6 separate regions of the Homo sapiens genome follow, and all the other regions are linked to region 5. The links are contacts of gene promoters, found by promoter capture Hi-C in human tissues and cell types (Jung and others, 2019). All regions are on one chromosome and are shown on one strand. Each heading gives the region's core, a stretch centred on a gene start or on the middle of the fragment in contact. The rest is flanking DNA. Distances are from core to core; before and after follow the strand shown.

Region 1 (4,196 bases), core at 1,608-4,107, 350 kb after region 5:
GGGGACAGGTCACAAATACTGAAAAAGAAGACCTGGGAATCGGGCAATCTAGGCCTTGCTGGTGTCACGCAGCAGGTACTGGTTTCTTAGCTTAGCACTCAAGACTCTGCGTTAAATTATGCCAGTCCCATCGGCCTCTTCCAAAACCTTGAAGATATCCTCAGACCCTTCAAGGTAGAACATTGCTCAACCGGCAGGGCACGGTGGCTCACTCCTGCAATCCCAGCACTTTGGGAGGCTGAGGTGGGTGAATCACCTGAGGTCAGGAGTTTGAGACCAGCCTGGCCAACATGGTGAAACCCTGTCTCTACCAGAAATACAAAAATTATCTGAGCGTGGTGCCAGGTGCCTGTAATCCCAGCTACTCAGGGGACTGAGGCAGGAGAATCACTTGAACCCAGGAGGCGGAGGTTGCAGTGAGCCGAGATTGCGCCACTGTACTTCAGCCTGGGCAACACAGTGAGATTCTGTCAAAAAAAAAAAAAAAAAAAAAAAGGCCGAGTGTGGTGGCTCACACCTGTAATCCCAGCACTTTTGGAGGCCGAGGCAGGTAGATTACCTGAGGTCAGGAGACCAGCCTGGCCAACATGGCAAAACCCTGTCTCTAATAAAAATACAAAAATTAGCCAGGCGTGGTGGAGGGCAACTGTAATCCCAGCTACTTGGGAGGCTGAGACAGGAGAATCATTGAACCCAGGAGGAGGAGGTTGCAGTGAGCCGAGATCACGTCAATGCACTCCAGCCTGAGTGACAAGAGTGAAACTCCATCTCAAAAAAAAAAAAAAAAAAAAAAAGTAAAAGAAAAAGAAAATTCCTCCTGATGTCTCCAGCTTTTTCCAAGTTCCCCTGGCATCAGAGGGTGGCAAACCATTTACATGGGTCCTGTGCACTACGTTTCAATAATGCTATGTTGCAAGACCAGGCAGTAAAGACACTACCTTTAGCCACTAACTCATACTCTAAAGGCTTAGAGTTTTAAAGAACCAGAAAAGAACATTCATAGTCAGGGAGAATATAATCTGATCATCTTCCCACCTTGTCAAAAGTCGGAGGAGGGAGAATTCAACTACAGCTGGGAGTGGAGCTGCCAGCTGTATTTTTAAAAATGGACACATTTTGACTTAAGCCCTTTGGATCCCAGAGATAAATTTCAGGAGGAGAAGGGCAAGCCTGAATATTTTACCCCCTGTACCACCCAGAGTCAGCCAAAGCTGGAGATCTGTCAGTTTAGAAAATAAATAAGAGTGAGATTAGGGGTTGCATTTTTTCCCCTTTTTGCAATTAATTCCTGTGACTGGCTGCTCTGGCAACAATGTAAATACTTGTAGCTTTCAGAACATGCCAGGTAGCCCATCTCTTCTGGTGGGCTGGTACTTATCTGCAAGGGTAGCCTTGTACTTAATATGGGCCTTTGTTGTCCCTTTCTGTGGCCACAGAACTTCCTAGGAAATGACAGTGGGGAAAATGAGAGCTATGGCTCTGGGTAGTCCGCTGATCTCATGGGGATGGGGCTGGAGCCAGGAGAAAATGAGATCATGAGATGAGCTCAGGAAAGCACTAGCGAAAAATGAGGTCTGAGCAAATGAATTAGCTTCTGCCCTACAATTATTTTTAAAAGTTTCCCATATGCCATCTTATTCAAACAGTGGACATGTGAAGTACATAACAGGGAAACTAAGACCCACAAAGAAGGGAAGTGACTTGCCCAGATCATTTGCTTGAATCCTTTATTTACAACAATCCTACTGGGAATGCTTGTTACACAGAGCACTTAGTTCAATGAAATCCTTTCACCTACCCTGTGATCAAGGTTCATTTATGATCTCTACTGTTCAGATGAGGAAGTGGGGACTCCAAGTGGTCAAATGACTAGTTCAAGGTCACGTAGCCAGGGAGGGGCACAGACAAAACTGGAATCCAGGTCTGCCAGAGTCCAGAGCCTATGCTCTCATCACTTTCTGGGCTGTACTGCCCAGAAAGTCCAAGTGGTCTTCAGAGACCCTCTGTTCACTCAGTTCCAATGCACCAGCACCTAGCTTTGGTGGAGGGGCTGGGAGACCCCTTTCTGCCATCTTTTGGCACTGCTCTGAGGGTCAGCCTGGCAGCTCGCATGCTGGGTTAATAAGCAAATCTTACTGCATCTAAAGTCCTCTTGCCAACTTGGTCCAGGATTTAATAATTGGTAAGTTTGGAGAAGGTGAGTGAGGGACAAGAGGGGGAAAAGGTGATTCCAAAGTCTGGCTTCTGTCCTCAACATCGTCTAAACGGGGTAGTCAGCTGGGGTTGGTGGTTAAAAATCTACACGGATATTTTATTGGGGGGTGTTTTTTATTGGGGGTTGGAGTAAGACTCTCAAGGGCGTGCCTTTTCTTGGGGAGGGGAGCAGAAGATGGGGGTGTGCATCTCTGAAGATTTGCAAGAGTGAGAGACACACAGAGAGAAAGAGAGTTGAAAAAGAGAAAGAGAAGCAGAGGGAGAGTTGGGGAGGCAGAGAGAGCAGGGGAGAGGCTGTGTCCAAGGTTCCCCTGGGCTTTTTCCAGAATTCCACAGCTCTGATGCTCAGGTACTCAGAAAGTGACCATGCTGTGTTGCTGGACAAAAGACGCCTGTGACCGGGCTCAGAGTCTGAGAGGGGATGGGGGAAGCAGCCAGTGCTGCCTGGGAGGCAGAGGCATAGTGTTCCAGGTCAGATAATTGGCCAAGTCTTTCTTCCAAAGTCTGTCAGGCTACATTTCCTAATGGGCACTTCTGGATTGGTACCCAGCCAGAATGCATACAGTCATCACAGCAGCTGCCATTTTGAGTGCCAATTACACACCGAGTATGCATGGTCCTGTGAAAATGGTGCTGTTATTGTCCTCTCCCCTCATTTAAAACTGACCATAATCCATGTTTGGATATGTCACTAAAATGAATAAGAACTCAAAATGCTAGTGCACATTCAGCAGTACTTCAAATGCCTGGGTTTGGGCTTATTTGGGAGCGCAGGAGGCAGTCTCATTCTGAGGTAGAAGGATGGGAACATGCCTGCTTAAGCTTCCTTCCAACATGGCTGCCTGGAGGCAGGGAGCTGAGTTACTACCTCTGGGGAAAGAGGAGCTGGCCAGTGAGGTCAGGAAAATTGGGCTGCTCTCTCCACACACCCCACCCATGTTCTGACCTCCTGCCATCTGTCTGTGCCACCTCCCTTGTGCCCTTGTGCCTAAGTGGTCACTTTCTGCCCTGGCATCCCAGCTGTGGGACCCCTTCTGCCCTCCTGGATGATAGCTGGGACAGGAACACTGGCTTTTAAATCACAATGCGTTTGGAGAACAACCACAGAACAGCTCAACCCAAGAAACCAAAACCAAATAGCACAGACACAAGACAGAACCAAAGACGAGTCGCTTTGGGGGAGAAGAGGACCAGGTGAAGGGAATGGGAGGGGAAAAAAGAACCATTTGATTTTTTCCCCCCAAAACGAAACAAAACCAAAGAAAAAAAGAAAAAAGAAAAAAAAAAGAAAAAGGAAAAAAGAAAACCAAAAGAGAAAAACAGAACAGAAGACGAGAAACACTCCAACAGAAGGCGTTGGGAATTCACCAAACCAAACCGACAAGAGAGGCATGCAGAGAAATTTTTACATTCTCCCAGCATGCATCAGGCCCAAGTTACCATGACGACGAGGAGTGCAAAAAACTTAGCAACAACATTACCAACGGATGCAGAGGCGACCATAATGCAAGCATCGCATGTGTGCGGCCGGCCCTAGGCCGGGCTGGGCGCGGCTGAGATTTTCGTGTCTTTCTGGGTTTTGCGCTCGCTTGGCGGTTTTTTGTTTAGTTTGCTTTGTGCTTATGATTCATATTCCATCTTTTAAAATTGTTGTTCATTTTTCTATTTTTTTTCCGTGTGTGTGTCAGCGTGTGTCCGTGTGGTGTCTACATGTGTTTTGTGTGTGTGCGTGTCATTTTCAGAATGTAAAAATGTGGGTAAAGAAAGTAAAAAAGAAAAAAACACACCAACCTTCTCGAAGCTCTGAGGGATGTAAAGGGGGTTTGATGCAGAACACAATGACATGGGAAGAAGAGAAAAAATAGGGGAGATACAGAGAGTAAAAAGAGGACTTCCCAAGGCTAAAAGCTGCAATAGTTTGTTGTTTTTTTTTTCTTTAAACCAAAAAAAAAAATTAAAATTAAAAAATAAAAAGAACAGCA
Region 2 (3,795 bases), core at 455-2,954, 260 kb after region 5:
AGCCCTTGCACTGTGCTAGTTTTTCCCAAGCCCACACACACACTGGGGAGCCAGACACTGAGGATACAGCAAGTTCTTGCCCCACAAAGCCCATGCCCTTTAGAGGAGACAGATGCCAGCATCAACATTACCAGGTGTTAAGAAAGTACCTGGGAATAGTCTGAGTCCTTCAAAAAGTTAAACACAGACCAGGCTTGGTGGCTCATGCCTATAATCCCAGCACTTTAGGAGTCCGAGGCGGGTGGATCACCTGAGGTCAGGAGTTCATGACCAGCCTGGCCAACATGGTAAAACTCCATCTCTACTAAAAATACAAAAATTAGCTGGGGGTGGTGGTGAGCTCCTGTTATCCCAGCTACTCGGGAGGCTGAGGCAGGAGAATCAATTGAACCCAGGAGGGTTGCAGTGAGCTGAGACCGCACCATTGCACTCCAGCCTGGGCGACAAGAGTGAAACTCCATTTCAAATAAAAAGTTAAACACAGAGTCACTGTATGACCCAGGAATCTGACTTCCAGGATACACCAAAAGAATTGGAAGCAGAGACTCAGATGTTTGCACACCATGGTCATAGCAACATGATTCACAGTGGCCAAAAGGTGGAAACAATCCAAGTGTCTGTTGTTTGATGGATGGGTAAACACAATGTGATCCATCCATACAATGGAATATCACTCAGCCATTAAAAGGAATGGGGGTCTGACACAGGCTACAGTAGTGTGGATGAACCTTGGCATCATGCTCAGTGAAAGAAGCCAGACACAAAAGGCCACACAGTGTGTGATCCCATATCTATGAAATGTCCAGGACAGGTCAATCTACAGAGACAGGAAGGGGATTGTAGGTTGCCAGCAGCTGGGGCCAGGGGAATGAGGAGTGGCTATTTAATGGGCATAGGGTCTTCTTTGGGGGTATTTGGGAATTAAAGAGAATTGGTGACTGCACAGCACTGAGTGTGTCAAATGTCACTGAATTGTTCACTTTCAAATGGCTAACTTTATGTGAATCTCACCTCAATGAAAAAGAAATACGGGAAGGATAGACAAGAAACTAAGGATGTTGGTTACCTACAGGGGCAGGTGGGAAATTATTTAAAAGAATTAGGGCAGTAGGCAAGGTGGCTCATGCCTGTAATCTCAGCACTTTAGGAGGCCAAGGTGGGAGGATTGCTTGAGGCCAGGATTTCGAGACCAGTCTAGGCAACATAGCAGGACCCTATCTCTGAAAAAAAAATTGTTTTTAATTAGCCAGACGTGGTGGTGCACACCTGTAGTCCCAGCTACTCAGGAAGCTGAGGTAGGGGGATCATTTGAGCCTAGGAGGTCAGGGATGCAATGACTCGTGATTGTGCTACTGCACTCCAGCCTGTGTGACAGAGCCAGATCCCATCTCTTAAAAAAAAAAAAAAAAAAAAAAAAGGCTAGGTGCGGAAGCTTATGCCTGTAATCCCAGCACTTTGGGGGCCAAGGCAGGTGGATCACGAGGTCAAGAGATCGAGACCATCCTGGCTAACACAGTGAAACCCCGTCTCTACTAAAAATACAAAAAATTAGCCAGGCGTGGTGGCGGGCGCCTGTAGTCCCAGCTACTCGGGAGGCTGAGGCAGGAGAATGGCGTGAACCCGGGAGGCGGAGCTTGCAGTGAGCCGAGATCGCGCCACTGCACTCCAGCCTGGGTAACAGAGGGAGACTCTGTTGCAAAAAAGGAAAAGAAAAAAAAAAAAGAGGCTGGAAGTGGTATGGGAAAAAGAGTAGCAGGAATGAAGAGGGAGTGCCCACTCTCTGAGAACCATTTGGTATAGCTCTGACTGAAAAATCATAGTCATGTTATACACACTTTAAAAGATAACTGATTAAAATCAAGGATATGATGTGTACTCCAAATGGAAAACAAATAGTAAAATATAAACTCAGCTGCACCACAAATGAAAATCAACCACACTGAAGAGCCAGGGGAAGAATGGAGTTGATCTCAGTAAATTTGGGAAACAATGTTTCCACTGGATACTGTTAGGCTAAAAATGAAAATACCTATACACCAACACTATACTCTAGTTCAAAAATCTAGTTCTCATGGCTTAGCCATCTGTACCTACTATATGTGAATATTGCAATTGAGCAAATGAGTGAATTAATTGTAGATGAGCTAGGTTTCTCTCTGTCAGCGAAAAAAGTTACGTCAAGGGTAAAGGAAGCGGCTAGAATGAACATTGTGCTGGTTGGAATCAGAAGTGTCAGTATAGGCTGGGCGCAGTGGCTCATGCCTGTAATCCCAGCACTTTGGGAGGCCAAGGTGGGTGGATCATGACGTCAGGAGATCGAGACCATCCTGGCTAACACAGTGAAACCCTGTCTCTACTAAAAACAAAAAAAAAATTAGCTGGGCGTGGTTGTGGGCGCCTGTAGTCCCAGCTACTCGGGAGGCTGAGGCAGGAAAATGGCATGAACCCAGGAGGCAGAGCTTGCAGTGAGCCGAGATTGCGCCACTGCACTCCAGCCTGGGTGACATAGCGAGACTCCGTCTCAAAAAAAAAAAAAAAAAGTGTCAGTATCAATCCATGATTTTCTAATATATATATATAGACAGATGTTATAGAAATATATAGTCAGTACATATAGATGCAGAAATAAATATGTAAGTATATATATTTATATTATGAATACAGGTGAAAGGGCTCAAACTTGTAATCCCAGCTATTTGGGAGACCAGGGTGGCTTGGGGAGAATCGCTTGAGGCTAGGAGTTCAAGACCAGCCTGGACAACATAGCACAGCCCCATCCCTACAAAAAGAAAAATGTTAAGAAGAAATAAATAAAGATGTGTGTACACATGGCTAATCTGATACCCCAATAGCAGTGAGCATACTAGCACCCCGATCTAAATACCATTCTCCAATAAAAGGAACCAGGGGAGGAATCACTGATTTTATGACTGGGACAGAGAAAACACAAGACAAGGTACAGGCACATACCGCTGTGCCCAGCTAATTTTTTATTTTTTTTGTAGAGATAGGGGTCTCACTTTGTCGCCCAGGCTGGTCTTAAAGTCCTGGGCTCAAGCGATCCTCCCGCCTTGGCCTCCCAAAGTTGGCCATACCCAGCCTACATGAATGATTCGATGGGGGTCTGGGCTCGGTGACTCATGCCTGTAATGCCAGCACTGTGGGAGGCTGAGGTGGGCAGATCACCTGAGGTCAGGAGTTCGAAACCAGCCTGGCCAACATCGCAAAAACCCATCTCTACTAAAAATACAAAAATTAGCTGGGCGTGGTGGTGGGCACCTGTAATCCAAGCTACTCGGGAGGCTGAGGCAGGAGAATCACATGAACCCAGGAGGTGAGCCGAGATCATGCCACTACACTCTAGCCTGAGCAATACAGCAAGACTCCATCTCAACAACAAAAAAAAAAAAAAAAAAGAGAGAGAGAGAGAGAGAAAGAAAAACAGAAAACACAAGATAAACCTGAAGCATCTTGTGTTCCCAGAAAATAAGGAAATGCTCAAAAAAGGGTATAGATATATAGAAAGGACACCAGACCCAACCGAAGCAGCTCCCAGTGGCTGAAGCTGAAACAATTTGAACAATAAAATTAGTGACAGTGTGGGATTATCACCTAGAGAATAAAATAAATATCCAAACTGCTATAAGTAATTGAATAAATACCTAAATGGAGGGAGAAGGGACAGATCTTCCTTACAGATGAGTCACATTACACGTAAGAGGGAGAAGTAATGGCTTAGTCCCTTTGTGCCACTACAAGAGAATATCATGGACTGGGTAATTTACAAAGATCATA
Region 3 (3,756 bases), core at 317-2,816, 340 kb after region 5:
CTACCAGAGACTGCAGAGGCCACCCCAACAGCTTACTTCAACTAGAGAGACCCTCCGGCCTCACTTAAAGCAAAACATTAGAGGCCCCTCCTCCAAAACTAGACAAAGGGAACCCTTCCCCATTTCTTGACCAGCCACACCAACCAAAGGTGCCCGGGGGGTGCGGGGAATCAGGCAGGGAGCAGGGGGAAAAAAAAAAAAAAAACAACAATCAAGGAATGTGTCGGAAGGAATGGATTTGCTGAGAAAGGGGGAGAAAAAATAAAACCGAAACCATAATAAAATAAGAAACAACAGTGATGGTGATGATGATGAGAAAAACTTAATAAAAGAAAGAAAGACTCCTTCCAGAAAACGCCCAGTCTGGTTACCTACCTTCCACTCTTCAACTGCTAACTTAAAAGACTTTCTTACGAGAGAGGGAACGGCCGAGCGCTGAGCTACAAGGCCAGACCGAACTCTTGGTGGGTCTCAGGATGCCAGTGGCCCCGCAGCCCTGCTCCAGCCCCCAGCGTGCGCACGCTGAGGTTCCAGGCTGGAGGCAGGAAGGTGGCACGGTGTCTGGGGAGACCCACGGCTGAGTGGTCTGACCTGCACCTACCCTGTGTTCAGCCTAAGGAGCCCGCAGTCCCCGGGGGGATGGATACGCCTGGCCCTGAGTCTTTGCTGTCGGTTCTCCTGGGCCCCACCCGTCTCGGGGCAAGAAGCGGGGAGTCCCTTCTCCCCAACTCCCTGTCCTGGGCCGCCCCGGAGGTTCGCGTGGCTGGGCCGAAGCCGCTTTCTAGGTGACCGTGTAGGTCACGTCCTTCACAATCCGGCCCAACCTGCATGACATCTCGGGAAGGGATGTGTGCAAAGACGTGGATGTGCGTGCGTGGGCAGCGTGGCATGGTGGTGGCACGTGGTTTGGGAGAGTTTCTGGGGCCGAATTCGGGCCGTGGACTGTCCGTTCAGCCCAGAGTGGCTGGGGCAGGCGGGGGGGCACGCGGGGTGGGCCGTTTTTGTGAACCTGCTTGAGACCAGCGTGTACTCACCTTCAGGACACCTCAGCCAGTCTCTCAGGTGGCTGCCCAAGCCACAGGCCACCCTCACTGACTCCACCTCACACAGACGCGCCCAGACGCCTTGGAGCCGCCAGGTGCTCAGCTCGGCTTGGTTTGTGGGGAGCAGGAAGGAGGGAAGGGGGCCGGCGGGGGCAGGGGGGTTGTGTCTCCGAGGCGCCCCACCCCCCCGATCCCAGCGGCTCAGATGCCCCGGCTGGAGTTGATGTTAACCCTTCGACTGATCCGAGATGCCCCTGTGTACACACACCCAGGGCGGGCCTTGAAGGTTTGACCATCATGACTGATTCTGGAAGAAAGCCTGGGGTGGCTACGCCGTGACTGACTGGGTGAAGGGAGGGAAGAGGGGGAAGCAGGGGGAGGCCACGACAGAGAGACCACGCCGGTGGAGGCCACACCAGGGAAGGCCACGCTGGGCTGAGCGGAGCCAGGGAGGCAGGTGAGGTGGGGAGACGGCAGAAGGGGCCTGTCCAGCTCCGAGTTTAGAGAAGTCAGGGAGAGAGGGTGGCGGTGACCCACAGCCAACTGCCAGGTGAAGGGTGACTCGCTCCAAACAGGGAGGCCGGGCCGGCACAGCAGAGAACTCCAGAGATTTGAGCCCCGAGTGGGGACCTGCATGCCCCCACGAAACCTGGCCTCGGCTCCGATTCCACCCCCTCCCCACCCTCGGGAACTGGGACCTCGTCCTGGGGTCTTGAGAGCCAAGGCTCCCTGCCCGGGGGAGGAAGACCGACGGGGAAGGTGGGTTCGTCTCTGTGTCCTTTGCTCTGAGAATGATGGGGTGCGAGCCGTGACCACAGCCTCACGGTACCCTCAAAATGCCTGGGAAATGGGCACAACGTGGCCCTTCAATCAGCCCCCACTCCAGGATGGAAAGAGGAGAAAGAAGGCGTGGTCCCAGAACCTCTCCTACACCAGGGCCAAGATCAGCCACTTCTCCTTGACCCCAAGTCTCAACCCGGGTCACCAGGCCCAGGGGCACAGACAACCCCATGCTGAGACCCTCGCTGTGCTGATGGGGATACTGAGGCACAGCGCGGGTAGATGGATCCGAGGTCGGGGAACAAAGCGGAGACAGGCCGGGAGGCGCCCCCCACCCACTGCAGCAGGCCCCGCCTGGGTCCGTCTGCCGAGGGGCTGTCTGCGGTCAGGCCGTGGTCCCTCCCGCAGAGAAGGGCGGCCCCGCGAGACACCTACTGGACTGCAGCGTGCGCTGCCGCACCACGGGGGTGAAGGCGCCCAGGCCCTGCGGCGAGCGGGCCGCCAGGCGGAAGGCGTACTCCGTGTTGGGCTTCAGGTCCTCCACCACGTAGGAAGTCGTCGGGTCGAAGGTCCTTCCCACCTGGGGGCAGGGCAGAGAAGGACAGAGAGGGATGGGGGAGAGAGAGAGAGAGACAGAAACAAAGGGGAGAGAGAGAGAGACAGAAACAGAGGGGGGAGGGGGAGAGAGAGAGAGAGAGAGAGAGACAGAGAAATAGAGACAGGGGTGCGGCAGAGAGGGACAGAGAGGGATGAGGGAGAGAGGTAGAGGGGAGAGAGAGGTAGAGACAGAGATACAGACAGAAAAAGAGGGTACGGAGAGAGACAGAGACGGAGAGAGACAGAGACAGAGAGAAACAGGGGAGAGAGTCAGAGACAGAGGGACACAGAGACAGAGATAGAGACAGAGGGACACAGTGACAGAGATAGAGACAGAGAAACAAAGGAGAGAGACAGACACAGAGACAGAGATAAATGGGAGAGACAGAGACAGAGAGAGATACAGAGACAGACAGAAACAGGAGAGAGATACAGAGACAGAGGAATAGAGAAATTGAGAAGGAGACAGATACAGAGATAGACACACAGAGACAGAGAAATAGAGACAGAGACAGAAACACAGAGAAACAGGGGAGAGAGACAGACAGAAACGGAGGAGAGAGAGATTGAGACAGGGACAGAGAAAGAGAGGAGAGAGAGACAGAAATAGAGATAGAGACAGAAATAGAGAGAGAGGAGAAAGAAACAGATACAGAGACAGAGACAGAGAGACAGAAAGAGAGGCAGAGGGATAGAAACACAGAGACAGATGGAGACAGAAAAAAAACACACAGAAAACAGAGACAGAAAGAGAAACAGAGACAGAGACATAAACAGACAGAAACAGACCCGGAGGGATGGAGAGTGAGCGTCAGAGGCACCGGTGAAGACAAGACACAGAGAGAAGCACAGATCAAGAGAGATGGGGACGCCGATACATACGGAACCAGAGAGAGGCCGCCAGCAGCAGAGGAGAAAGACAAAGGAGATGAGACAGAGGAGAAAAAAGTGGAGGAAAGGCACAAAGGGACAGAGACGCAGGAGAAGCAGAAGGGGTGAGGAAGAGCAGAATCCGCAGCACACATAGGGACAAAGAGGGGGAAGAGACAAGGCGGGCAGCGTCAGAGAGCGCCGGGGAGGAGCCCAGGGCAGGCCAGCCCGTCCCCGCGCTGCCTCACCTCCCGGCCATGGTCGCCTTCCCGGAAGAGGAGCTCGTACTTGATGATACTCTCCTGCCGCGGGGGGCTCCAGGACAGCGTGATGCTGGTCTCCGACCTGGCCTCGGCCCGCAGGTTCATGGGCTGGCCCGGCACTGTGGGGGTGCAGGGAGACAACTAGGAGTCGGGGAGCGTCCACCCCACAAAGGGGGCCCCACCTGCTGAGTGTCCCCACTAAA
Region 4 (3,859 bases), core at 1,304-3,803, 450 kb after region 5:
CCTTAAATTCCTGCCAGACAGGTCCAAAACATCTCCCCTAAACTTTCCCTGTGCCAGAGATTCCACTATCGTTGCACGTTACTTCAAATTAAATGTTGTTCTCTCTGCTCCTCTCTCTGTCTCTTTCTCCTCACAAATTCGCTTCAAACGCCAAAGGGAAGAGGAGCAGATAGGAACATCCTATTTGCTGCACACCTGCTCTGTGCTGGGCTCCATGTGGGGTTCACTTGGGGGTCCCCTGATTTAGCTGATTTGGTAAGCGTTGGAGGATTTGGGGAGGCATGGGTTAGGAAAACACTCAACAACTAGGCACAGAATGAAGCTTTCTCAACCTAGTAAAAGGCATCTACAGTCAGTATCATACTTTATGGTGAAAGACTGGATGTTTTCCCCGTAAGATTAGGAACAAGATGAGAATGCTCCCTCCCACCACTTCTATTCAACATTGTACTGAAGCCTATAACCAGGCAACTAGGTGAGAAAATAACATAAAAGGCATTCATATTGGAAAGGAAGAAATTAAACTATCTCTATTTGCACATGACATCATTTTGCATGTAGAAAATCCTAAGGGATCCACTAAAGACCTATAAAACTAGTAAATGAATTCATCAAGGCGGCAAGATATGAAATCAATACACAAAAATCCATTGTATTTCCTATGCAGTGGCAATGAACAAACGAAATGAAATTAAGAAACCAATTCCATTTACAATTGATGAAAAAGAATAAAATACTTAGGAATATATTTCCAAAAGAAGTGCAAAGCTTATACTATAAAAAATAACAAAAGGTTGAAAGATTAAATTAAAGAAGACTTAACTAAATGGAAAGACATCCCATGCTCATGGATTGGAAGAATAATATTGTTAAGATGTCTATACTCCCCAAATTGATCTAAAGATTAAACCCAATCCCTATCAAAATTTCAGTTAGCTTCTTTGCAGAAATTGGCAAGCTGATCCTAAAATTCATGTGAAAATGTTCGAGGAACTTAGAACAGCCAAAACAATCTTGAAAAAGAACAAAGTTGGAGGACTCAGACTTCCCAATTTCAAAACTTATTACAACCTACTGTAACCAGGACAATGATGTACTGGCATAAGAATAGACATTCAGATCAATGGGGTAGAATTGAAAGTGCAGAAAAAACCCTCATATCTATGGTCAATTGATTTCCATCAAGTTGTCAATTCAGTGGGGAAAGAATAGTCTTTTCAACAAGTGGGGCCAGGACAATTCCATATTCACATGCTAAAGAATGAAGTTGAATCCCCACCTCACACCATATACAAAAATCAACTCAACATGGATGATAGACCTAAATGGAAGAGCTTAAACTATAAAACTCTTAGGAAAAAATGCAGAGGAATAAATCTTAATGATCTTGAATTAGGCAATGGATTCTTTTGAGGTTCCTTTCCAGGTGATTAAAATATTCTAAAATTAAAATGTTAAAAATGTTCTAAAATAAAATAAAAATGTTTAAAAATGTTCTAAAATGTGGATGATTGGTGATGATGATGTCCCTTATACAAAGGGGAAATTTGGACACAGAGACAGACCCATATAGAGGGGAGATGATGTGAAGAAGAGACACAGGGAGAAGGCGGCCGTCTGCAAGCCAAGGAGCGAGACCTCGGAAGTAACACATCCTGGCTGGGTGTGGTGGCTCATGCCTGTAATCCCAGCCCTTTGGGAGACCGAGGCGGGTGGATCACCTGAGGTAAGGAGTTTGAAACCAGCTTGGCCAACATGGAGAAACCCCATCTCTACTAAAAAAAAATACAAAAAATTAGCCAGGTGTGGGTAGTGGCAGGCACCTGTAATCCCAGCTACTCAGGAGGCTGAGGCAGGAGAATCGCTTGATCCTGGGAGGCGGAGGTCGCAGTGAGCGGAGATCATGTTATTGCACTCCAGCCTGGGCAGCAACAGTGAAACTCCATCTCCAAAAAAAAATTGTTTTTGCCATGTTGGCCAGGCTGGTCTTGAACTTCTGACCTCAGGTGATCCACCCACCTGGGCCTCTCAAAGTGCTGGGATTATAGGCATGAGCCACCACGCCTGCCCAGGATTGGTTACTTCTGAGACCTCACTCCTTGGCTTGCAGATGGGCCGCCTTCTCCTTGTATCTCTTCTTCACATCATTTCCCCTATATGTGGGTCTGTCTCTGTGTCCAGATTTCCCCTTTTTATAAGGACACCCATCATAAGGTGGATCATAGGGTGGATCGGGACCCACCCTAATGCCCTCATTTTAACTTTACTTCTGTGAAGACCCTATTTCCAAATAAGGTCACATTCTGAGGTCCTAGGGGTTAGGACTTCAACATCTCTTTTGGGGGAACGCAGTTCAACCCCATAAAAGACCCTTTCCCTGACAGTGGCTTCACTGATACCCCTCAAGGACTTTACCTACTCCTGGACAAGGAGCTTGACATCCCCATGACATATGACAAGAGATGCTAGACCCTAGCCCATAAATCATGAGCACCCTTTGTTGATTGCAATAAGATCCAGGTTTTGGGAGAGGCAAGGGGATGCCATGCAGCCAGCCTCCCAGCTCTAGGGCCTGGCTGGCACATGTAAAGATCAAGGGCTTTATTCTCCCACTCTCCCTGGGGGACGCAATGACAAATTCAGATCAGGCCTCCGTTGTCTCCTGCCAGCTGGCGGTGCAGACAGGGCCTCTTGGTTCATCCCTTCTCAAGGAGAAAGGCTTGGATTCTCCACCAGGTGGGGTCTGTGCTGGGTATTGTGTGTAGAGTCAGAGGGACATGCCTGGCAGTGTCATCTGGACCCCTGCCACAAGCCTCACCAAGCCAAGGGCCTTCCAGTGCCATCAGTGTGGGCCCTGAGTGTGGTACTTGAAACTTTGAGAGGCTACAACTTATTTATTATTGTTTTTTAAGACAGTCTCACTCTGTCACTCAGGCTGGAGTGTAGTTGCATGATCATAGCTCACTGCAGCCTCAAACTCCTATACTCAAACAATCCTCCCACCTCAGTCTCCAAGTAGCTGGGATTACAGGTGTGCACCAGCCCACCCGTCTCATTTCTGCTTTTTTTTTTTTTTTTTTTTTTGAGATGGAGTCTCGTTCTGTCAACAGGCTGGAGTGCAGTGGCACGATCTCGGCTCACTGCAACCTCTGCCTCCCGAGTTCAAGTGATTCTCCTGCCTTGGCCTCCCAAGTAGCTGGGACTACAGGTGCATGCCACCACGCCCAGCTAATTTTTGTATTTTTAGTAGAGACGAGGTTTCACCCTGTTGGCCAGAACGGTGTCAATCTCTTGACCTAATGATCCGCTCACTTCGGGCTCCCAAAATGCATTTTTGTATTTTTTTGTAGCAATGGGGGTTTCACCATGTTGCCCAGATTGGTCTGGAACTCCTGGGCTCAAGCGATCCTGACACCTCAGCCTCCTGAGTCGCTGGGACTATAGACATGTGCCACTATGCCCAGATAATTTAAAAAAAAATTTTTTTTTTTTGTAAACATGGGGTCTCATTGTGTTGCCCAGGCTGGTCTTGAACTCCTGGTCTCAAGTGGTCCTCCCTCCTCAGCCTCCTGGAGCCCTGGGATTATGGATGTGAGCCACCACACTGGCCTCACAAAGTGATTTTAAGTTCTACGCACTGAGCATGAAACACTATGGTATGGTCGCCTGCCAAAATTACTCACGTCTAAGAACAGATGATTCCCCTTGAGCTTGTTAATGTCCCTAGGATTTGTTAATATCATGGTTGGGTCTTTATTGTTTTTCTTTGTAACTTTTTTGTCTTCCTTATTCATTTGACTTGTTACATTGTTACTTGCGCTCGTGTTTTAATTCCACTGATACTTGCATCCAGCGCTGG
Region 5 (3,636 bases), core at 1,132-3,631:
ATAGGACCTCTTCCTACTCCCATTTTATAGATTGGTTAACTGAGAGCCAGAGAGGTCACATAATTGCTCAGTATTAGTGTCTGGTAAGTTGACATTTGTCCCCAGGATATTTGCATGGCTGGAGTCCCTCCTATCACTCAGTTCTGTGCTTGGTTGTTCCCTCTTTGCAGAGTACTCCTCTGGTGGAACAGACCATCTCATCTAAATTTTTAAAGTCTAAAATGGCCAGGTGTGGTGGCTCATGCCTGTAATCCCAGCACTTTGGGAGGCCAAGGTGGGCGGATCACCTGAGGTCGGGAGTTCAAGACCAGCCTGACCAACATGGAGAAACTCCGTCTCTACTAAAAATACAAAATTAGCTGGGAGTGGTGGCACACGCCTGTAGTGCCAGCTACTCGGGAGGCTGAGGCGGGACAATCGGTTGAACCCAGGAGGTGGAGGTTGCAGTGAGCCAAGATTACGCCACTGCACTCCAGCCTGGGCAACGAGTGAGATTCAGTCTCAAAAAAAAAAAAAATTGCTAGTTCTTTTTTTAAGAGACAGTCGTTTGAACCCAGGAGGTTGCGGTGAGCCGAGATTGCGCCATTGCACTCCAGCCTGGGCAGCAAGAGCAAAACTCCGTCTCAAAAAAACGAAAACAAAAAATAAACAAAAATTAGCCAAGCATGGTGCCATGTGCCTGTGGTCTCAGCTACTCAGGAGGCTGAGGTGAGAGGATCGCTTATGCCAGAGAGGCTGGGGCTGCAGTGAGTTTTGATCACACCACTGGCCTCTAGCCTGGGCAACAGAGCGAGGCCCTGTCTCAAAAATAAATACATAAGCCAGGCCTGGTGGCTCATGCCTGTAATCCCAGTACTTTGGGAGGCCGAGGTGGGCGAATCACGAGGTCAGGAGTTCGAGACCAGCCTGGCCAACGTGGTGAAACCCTGCCTCTACTAAAAATACCAAAAATTGCTGGGCATGGTGGCGGGTGCCTGTAATCCCAGCCACTCAGGAGGCTGAGGCAGGAGAATCGTTTGAACCCGGGAGGCGGAGCTTGCAGCGAGCCGAGATGGTGCCACTTCACTCCAGCCTGGGAAGCAGGGCGAGACTGTGTCTCAAAAAATAGATAAATAAATAAATAAGATACAAATAAATAAATACAGAAATAAATTAAATTAAATTACACTTTGTTCAGCCAAGTGTTGGCCACGTGTTCTGCTTGACTGCTTAATACCTGGGAATATCCCCACAAACACATTTTGCAATGGACATATAATTTCCCCGACAACTCAGCAGACTCTCTGACATTTGTTCAGATTTCAGATCTGACCTGGTGGAACTGGGGACTAGTTATTCCTTCTCTGGAAGGTCTCCCTTGCTCTTCTACCTCCACTATCTTTCTTTTTTTGAGAGGGAATCTCGCTCCGTCACCCAGGCTGGCGTGCTGTGGTGCGATCTCAGCTTACTGGAACCTCCCCTTCACGAGTTCAAGTGATTCTCTTGCTTCAGCCTCCCAAGTAGCTGAGATTACAGGCACGTGCCAGCACGCCCAGCTAATTTTTTGGTATTTTTTGGTAGAGATGGGGTTTCGCTATATTGGCCAGGCTGGTCTCAAACTCCTGACCTCAAGTGATCCACCTGCCTCGGCCTCTCAAAGTGCTGGAATTACAGGTATGAACCACTGTGCCTGGCCCACCTCCACTGTCTCTCCCCATGAATGCAGGACTGCCTACTTTGTCTCCTGGGGTTTTGCTGTCAGAGTGAAACTTATCTGTAAAAGAATAAGACTTCTCAGAGGCCTCTCAAAGGCAGTTGTTGGATTGAGCATTTTCCAAGGAGACTACTTTGAACCTTCATTTTGAATATCGGGGTTCCGATCAGCTCCTTATGTCTTGTTATTTTTGCGTTTTGTGTATCTGATGGTCATTGTTCTTCATGGCCTCCCTCCTAGGGAGAAATCAGGCCACTCCCTATTTCTGATAGCCCTAGAGTTTTGTTGATTGACTCTCGGATGTGTTTATTTTCCAGACCCAGGTTCCTGTCATGGCTAGGGGTGGCTGTTGGCCTCGTCCTTACCCTCCACTGGGAATGTCTTTGTCTTATGCACGTAGTCTGCCTTGTTGTTGCAAATAACATTTCTGCTATAATCACAGGATGCCCCGGCTTCTTCACTCCATTCGACGTAACCCCTTCCCACGAGCTCCACCTTCACTATGGGGTCCACCAGGGTGCTGTTCAGGGTTAAGATCACCTGCCCTTTTATGCTGGAGCCAGCCAGGTAGATTCTATCCTCGGGCAGCACTAATTCGATCGACTTCACCACAGACATGGGGGGTTGGGGGGTAGAGAGACATTCCTCTCTGTCCCCCATGTCCCTGAAATTCCCGGTTCGTTGGCCCTAGTGAGGTAATCCATCTATGACATCACTCAGCTCAGAGTTCCGGGAAGTGGGGACCCCAGTGGCCAGGAGGGGAGGCAAAACTGTTGTTTAGGGTGGGTGGTTGATTGGGAAACCTGTAGTCCTCACTGGTTCTTTTTTTTTTTTTTTGAGATGGAGTCTTACCCTGTAGCCCAGGCTGGAGTGCAGGGGTGCCATCTTGGCTCACTGCAACCTCCGCCTCATGGGTTCAAGCAATTCTCCTGCCTCAGCCTCCTGAGTAGCTGGGACCACGGGTGCATGCCAGCATGCCCAGCTAATTTTTTGGTAGAGACAGAGTTTCACTGTGTTGGCCAGGATGGTCTCGATCTCCTGACCTCGTGATCCACCCACCTCAGCCTCCCAAAGTGCTGGGATTGCAGGCGTGAGCCACTGCACCTGGGCTTTTTCTTTTTTTGAGACAAAGTCTCATTCTGTCACCCAGGCTGGAGTGTAGTGGCGCGATCTCGGCTCACTGCCACATCTGCCTCCCGGGTTCAAGCAATTCTCCTGCTTCAGCCTCCTGAGTAGCTGGAATTACAGGCATGCACCATCACCATGCTTTGCTAATTTTTTTTTGGTATTTTTATTTATTTTATTTTTATTTTTTGTGATGGTCTCACTCTGTCAGCCAGACTGGAGTGCAATGGTGTGATCTCGGCTCACTGCAACCTCTGCCTCCTGGGTTCCAGCGATTCTCCCACCTCAGCCCCCCAAGTACCTGAGATTACAGGCAAGTGCCACTGCAACTAGCTAATTTTTGTATTTTTAGTAGAGACGGGGTTTCACCATGTTGGCCAGGCTGGTCTCGAACTTGTGGCCTCACATGATTCGCCTGCCTTGGCCTCCCAAAGTGCTGGGATTACAGTTGTGAGCCACTGTGCCCAGGTGCATACACACTCATTTTCATCTTAAAGACTCTACATTTATATTGGTCTATATTGGAAAAAACATAGAGATATGGCCAGGACCTGAAATCTGGTGCGCACTGAAGTTGATCAGGGCAGTGTGTGCTTAATCTGAACATCGACACCATCAGGAAGCAGCAACTCCCTGCATGATTGACATTTCTCTTTTTTTTTGAGGTGGAATCTCACTCTGTTGCCCAGGCTGGAGTGCAGTGGCGTGATCTCGGCTCACTGCAACCTCTGCCCCCTGGGTTCAAGCGATTCTCCTGCCTCAGCCTCCCAAGTAGCTGGGATTACGGGCATGGGGGTTACAGGCACCTGCCCCCGTGC
Region 6 (4,206 bases), core at 259-2,758, 490 kb before region 5:
GAGCTGTTTTCTCAGTTCTGCTGTTTCTGTGCTTGGCTTTCACAAAATGATTGTTCCCTTGAGCTTCCTTCTACAAGTGGCCTTGGGCTGTTAAGGAGAATGAGGTCTTGGTAGCTCAAGGCAATGCGTGCGTTCTTATTTTCCCAGCTTGCACTCTCTCATGCTTGGGCCAATTGGAGGTTTTCTCTTTTCCCCCCTGCCTCCGCTCCCCTGCTGTCAGGTTTTAGCGGCTTATCTGGTCTGGGCTTAGAAATTAGATACCCTTTAGTATAAAATCAGAGTCCATAGGCTCTGAGAGGATTATCTGAGAAAGGGTGCAGGAATTTTCATGCCCACACATAGTGAGCTCTGTCGCGACTCCTTGGGATTGTCGGTTTTTGTGTTTTGGCTTCCTTCTGGGATCCTGGATCACGTTTTTGGCAGTTGAGGGTGCTGTCTGACCGGGCTCCAGCTGGGTAGAATGTGGGAGTGTTGCATAGAATTTTGAGAGTGAGATCTATAAACACTTGGGTCAAATTTCAAGAAGATAAAGTTCTGTCAGACTTCAAGGTCCATCTGAGGGTTTGGCAAAGCAAAAAAGATACCAGTTTTAAATTAAGCAGTAATTGCTCTGTTTTGGTTGTTGGATATTACTGAGCGGGCTCTTGCCAGTCACATCAAGTCTGTTATCTCTGGACTCACAGCAGAGGGGGGGCATTGTAAGAGGCAGGAGATTCTGCAGCTGAGCTTCAGGCATGGGCAAGACTAAGGAACTGAATTCCCCGCCACCCCAAGACCACATTCCGTATTATAATCTCTGAACACAAAGGGCAGCCCCGGAGAGCTGCGGCTCCCATATTCTGCAGTTAAATCCCTCAGCGTGGGGGAGAGGCACACAGCCTTGGCAGGCAGAGTAGATGCTGGAGAGACAGATGCTTTTTCTGCAGCATTTGGTGAGGCTGCCTCGGGCTGGCATTTCTGTTGCCACATTCTCAGCAAAGACTGAACACCCTGGCCTGATCTCGGTGGTGAAAGAGCTCCTGCCAACACGGGCAGCCTTCTCACAACGGCTCGGCCTTTCCCTAAAGAAAGGTTTAGTCCAGAAAGGACTCAGTGGGACCCAGGTGGAAAGGCTGTCTTGAGCTCATTCATCTGAAGCTTTTATTCTGTGAGAGGTCCTAGTCAGGGGTTCAGCTTTCCCAGATAAAGAAATCACTGTTGGCCGGGCGCGGTGGCTCACGCCTTTAATCCCAGCACTTTGGGAGGCCGAGGCGGGCGGATCACGAGGTCAGGAGATCGAGACCATCCTGGCTAACATGGTGAAACCCCATCTCTACTAAAAATACAAAAAAATTACCCAGGCATGGTGGTGGGCACCTATAGTCCCAGCTACTGGGCAGACTGAGGCAGGAGAATCGCTTGAACCCGGGAGGCGGAGCTTGCAGTGATCCGAGATGGCGCCACTGCACTCCAGCCTGGGCGACAGAGCGAGACTCCGTCTCAAAAAAAAAAAGAAATCACTTACATAATTTTGTTGACCCCTCAGACCATTGCCAGGAAAATGGGCCTTTGGTTTTTCAGTCAACTTCAGTCTTACACTGCAAGTCTGCAATGAACCCGGAGAACTATTTCTTCCCACTCTTAAGCGTCTCTTCCCATTGCTCTTCACTTCTACTAGTTTGGTTTTCAGGATTCCCTGCCCCGGTGGGAGATAGCTTAGGCCAAAGTCCAGACTCCCTGTTCGTCTTCCTTCCTGGGACCATTTAGGTGGATGGTGAGTCACACCATGGATCCTATTGGTAATTCCTAGTAGCTCATGCTCAGTTTGAAGGTAGGTGATAGAAAATATTGTGCCCTAGAAGGTAGAAGTCCTAGAAAACCCCAGCAAGTTTCCCTTTTGTCTTAAGCTTTCACTCCACATTCTAAAAAGCAGAGTTGGCTGGGCGCGGTGGCTCACGCCTGAATTCCTAGCACTTTGGGAGGCGAGGCGGGTGGATCACCTGAGGTCAGGAGTTCGAGACCAGCCTGGCCAACATGATGAAACCCCTATCTCCACTAAAAATACAAAAATTAGCCAGGTGTGGTGGCACACGCCTATAATCCCAGCTACTCAAGAAGCTGAGGCAGGAGAATCGCTTGAACTTGGGAGGTAGAGGTTGCAGTGAGCCGAGATCGTGGCACTCGCTGCACTCCAGCCTCTGTGACAGGAGTAAGACTCCATCTCAAAAATAACATTAAAATAAAAAGCAGAGTTGAGCTAGACAGAATGTAAATTAGTGGTGCACAGGAAACCAGCCTGGAGACATGTTTTATTTGATTAATTTAGTATCTTTTTATTTTTTTTTTAGACAGTCTCACTCTGTCACCCAGGTTGGACAGCTCAGTGCAGCCTCAACCTCCCGGGCTCCTCCCACCCCAGACTCCTGGGTAGCTAGGACTACAGATGTGCACCACAACACCCGACTAACTAAAAGCTTTTTTTAGAGACAGGGTCTTGCTTTATTGCCCAGGCTGGTCTTGAACTCCTGGGCTCAAGTGATCCTCCCGCCTTGACCTCCCAAAGTGCTGGGATTACAGGCATGAGCCACTGTGCCCGTCTGTGTCCATTTTTAAACACCTAAAAAAATTCATATGAAATTCCTAATATCAGCTTCTCTTGGAGAAATTGGAAGGACCAGCAAATAGGGATCTATATTCCTGTAAGAACTCCATCTCCTTTGGACAGGCAGGTCCTCTCTCCTTTGCTACAAATCCATCCTCTCCCTGTCGCCCAGGCCAGCTGTCGCTTTTTTTTTTTTTTTTTTTTTAAGACAGAGTCTCACCCTGTTGCCCAGGCAGGAGTATGGTGGCGCAATCTCGGCTCACTGCAACCTCCTTCTCCTGGGTTCAAGCGATTCTTCTGCCTCAGCCTCCTGAGTAGGTGGGATTACAGGCACCTGCCACCACGCTCGGCTAATTTTTGTATTTTTAGTAGAGATGGGGTTTTGCCACGTTGGCCAGGCTGGTCTCGAACTCCTGACCTCAGGTGATCTGTCTGCCTCGGCCTCCCAAAGTGCTGGAATTACAGGCGTTAGCCACCGCGCCCAGCCTTGTCTGTTGCCTTTATTTCTGAGCTTGCCTTGTTTTTCTTGTGCTTGGTGTCCTTCACTCATTTCTTTATCTGCCTCCGTAGTCTCTCTTGTTATCTAATCCCAGATACACACATGTATGCACACTTACTGGAGTTTGTGACCCTATTATGACATTTTGGTTCTGTTGGTGGAAAAACTGATCACCTGGAAAGGTTTCTCTTTTTCTCGAAGCAATTGAAATAACCCGTGTTTAAAGATAAACGTCTTCTGTTTTCAGATAACTAAGAAATTCGTCAAAGGCTCTACAGAGAAGAACAAGCTCAGACTGCAAAGAGTAAGACATTTTCCCTGAAATAGAAAATTAACCTGCTGTGCTTTTTGCATTAAATAGTAAGCAAAGCCCTTTGAAGTTCCTTTGGTCTAGTTTTTACATTTTCCCCAGCCTTCTCTGACCATCATTTTGATTCCTGCTTCATTTTAAGTACTTGGACTTCATGGTTTGTGGATTGTGTCATTTTTTGGCTTGCTGAGTGAGTCCTAAGGTTTTGTGTGTGGCCTTTTCTAAGCTTTTATCAATAGTGCTACCACTGTCTTAATGGTTCAGTATCCCATTGTAGCTTCAAATTACCTTCCAAAAACCCAGTCCATTTCCTTGTAGTCCTGTCTCTTTTTTTTTTTTTTTTTTTTTTTTGAGACAGAGTCTCGCTCTGCCACCCAGGCTGGGGTGCAGTGGTGCGATCTCGGCTCACTGCAAGCTCCACCTCCCAGGTTCACGCCATTCTCCTGGCTCAGCCTCCCCAGTAGTTGGGACTACAGGCATCCACCACCACGCCTGGCTAATTTTTTGTATTTTTAGTAGAGACGGGGTTTCACCATGTTAGCCAGGATGGTCTCGATCTCCTGACCTCGTGATCCGCCCGCCTCGGCCTCCCAGAGTGCTGGGATTACAGGTGTGAGCCGCCGCGCCTGGCCAGTCCTGTGTCTTTCACTTATTGCTAAGTGCTATAACATCTGAATAGCCTCTACACTCGATGGGTGGTTATCCTTTAGTGACTCTCTGCTTAGTCTCCTATTCTGTGGGGGGCATCACCACGTTTTCCACACAGCAATGCAGGGGGCTTTTGTTTTGTTTTGTCTTTGAGACGGAGTCTTGCTC

Evidence for each region. The method cuts DNA at HindIII sites, captures the fragments that hold promoters and counts their contacts. A contact is called where the count stands out against the background at its distance.
Region 1: a contact is called between a fragment that was not itself captured here and the fragment with the promoter of ARRDC5 in region 5, in 1 of the 25 tissues and cell types used here (dorsolateral prefrontal cortex).
Region 2: a fragment that was not itself captured here is called in contact with the fragment with the promoter of ARRDC5 in region 5 in 3 of the 25 tissues and cell types used here (aorta, spleen and thymus).
Region 3: a contact is called between a fragment that was not itself captured here and the fragment with the promoter of ARRDC5 in region 5, in 2 of the 25 tissues and cell types used here (dorsolateral prefrontal cortex and lymphoblastoid cells).
Region 4: a contact is called between a fragment that was not itself captured here and the fragment with the promoter of ARRDC5 in region 5, in 1 of the 25 tissues and cell types used here (dorsolateral prefrontal cortex).
Region 6: a fragment that was not itself captured here is called in contact with the fragment with the promoter of ARRDC5 in region 5 in 1 of the 25 tissues and cell types used here (dorsolateral prefrontal cortex).

Annotation. Positions count from the first base shown.
Region 1 is chr19:5,252,103-5,256,298 of GRCh38, forward strand. It overlaps PTPRS (protein tyrosine phosphatase receptor type S), which reads right to left. Exons shown (of 38, transcript NM_002850.4): 9 at 4,006-4,017. Among named protein-coding and RNA genes, the nearest start is that of PTPRS-AS1, 76 kb to the left of the region's middle. The HindIII fragment of the contact is 3,689 bases long and covers 1,014-4,196 here.
Region 2 is chr19:5,165,813-5,169,607 of GRCh38, forward strand. No RefSeq gene overlaps it. Among named protein-coding and RNA genes, the nearest start is that of PTPRS-AS1, 10 kb to the right of the region's middle. The HindIII fragment of the contact is 5,500 bases long and covers 1-3,795 here.
Region 3 is chr19:5,236,661-5,240,416 of GRCh38, forward strand. It overlaps PTPRS (protein tyrosine phosphatase receptor type S), which reads right to left. Exons shown (of 38, transcript NM_002850.4): 12 at 3,539-3,672; 13 at 2,259-2,403. Among named protein-coding and RNA genes, the nearest start is that of PTPRS-AS1, 61 kb to the left of the region's middle. The HindIII fragment of the contact is 6,554 bases long and covers 1-3,756 here.
Region 4 is chr19:5,346,504-5,350,362 of GRCh38, forward strand. No RefSeq gene overlaps it. Among named protein-coding and RNA genes, the nearest start is that of PTPRS, 7.6 kb to the left of the region's middle. The HindIII fragment of the contact is 4,016 bases long and covers 546-3,859 here.
Region 5 is chr19:4,900,515-4,904,150 of GRCh38, forward strand. It overlaps ARRDC5 (arrestin domain containing 5), which reads right to left and starts at 2,382. Exons shown (of 3, transcript NM_001080523.3): 1 at 2,059-2,382. The coding sequence starts at 2,311. It also overlaps a transcript of UHRF1 not described here. The HindIII fragment of the contact is 23,961 bases long and covers 1-3,636 here.
Region 6 is chr19:4,414,693-4,418,898 of GRCh38, forward strand. CHAF1A (chromatin assembly factor 1 subunit A) reads left to right here. Exons shown (of 15, transcript NM_005483.3): 4 at 3,328-3,384. Among named protein-coding and RNA genes, the nearest start is that of CHAF1A, 14 kb to the left of the region's middle. The HindIII fragment of the contact is 3,051 bases long and covers 1-3,034 here.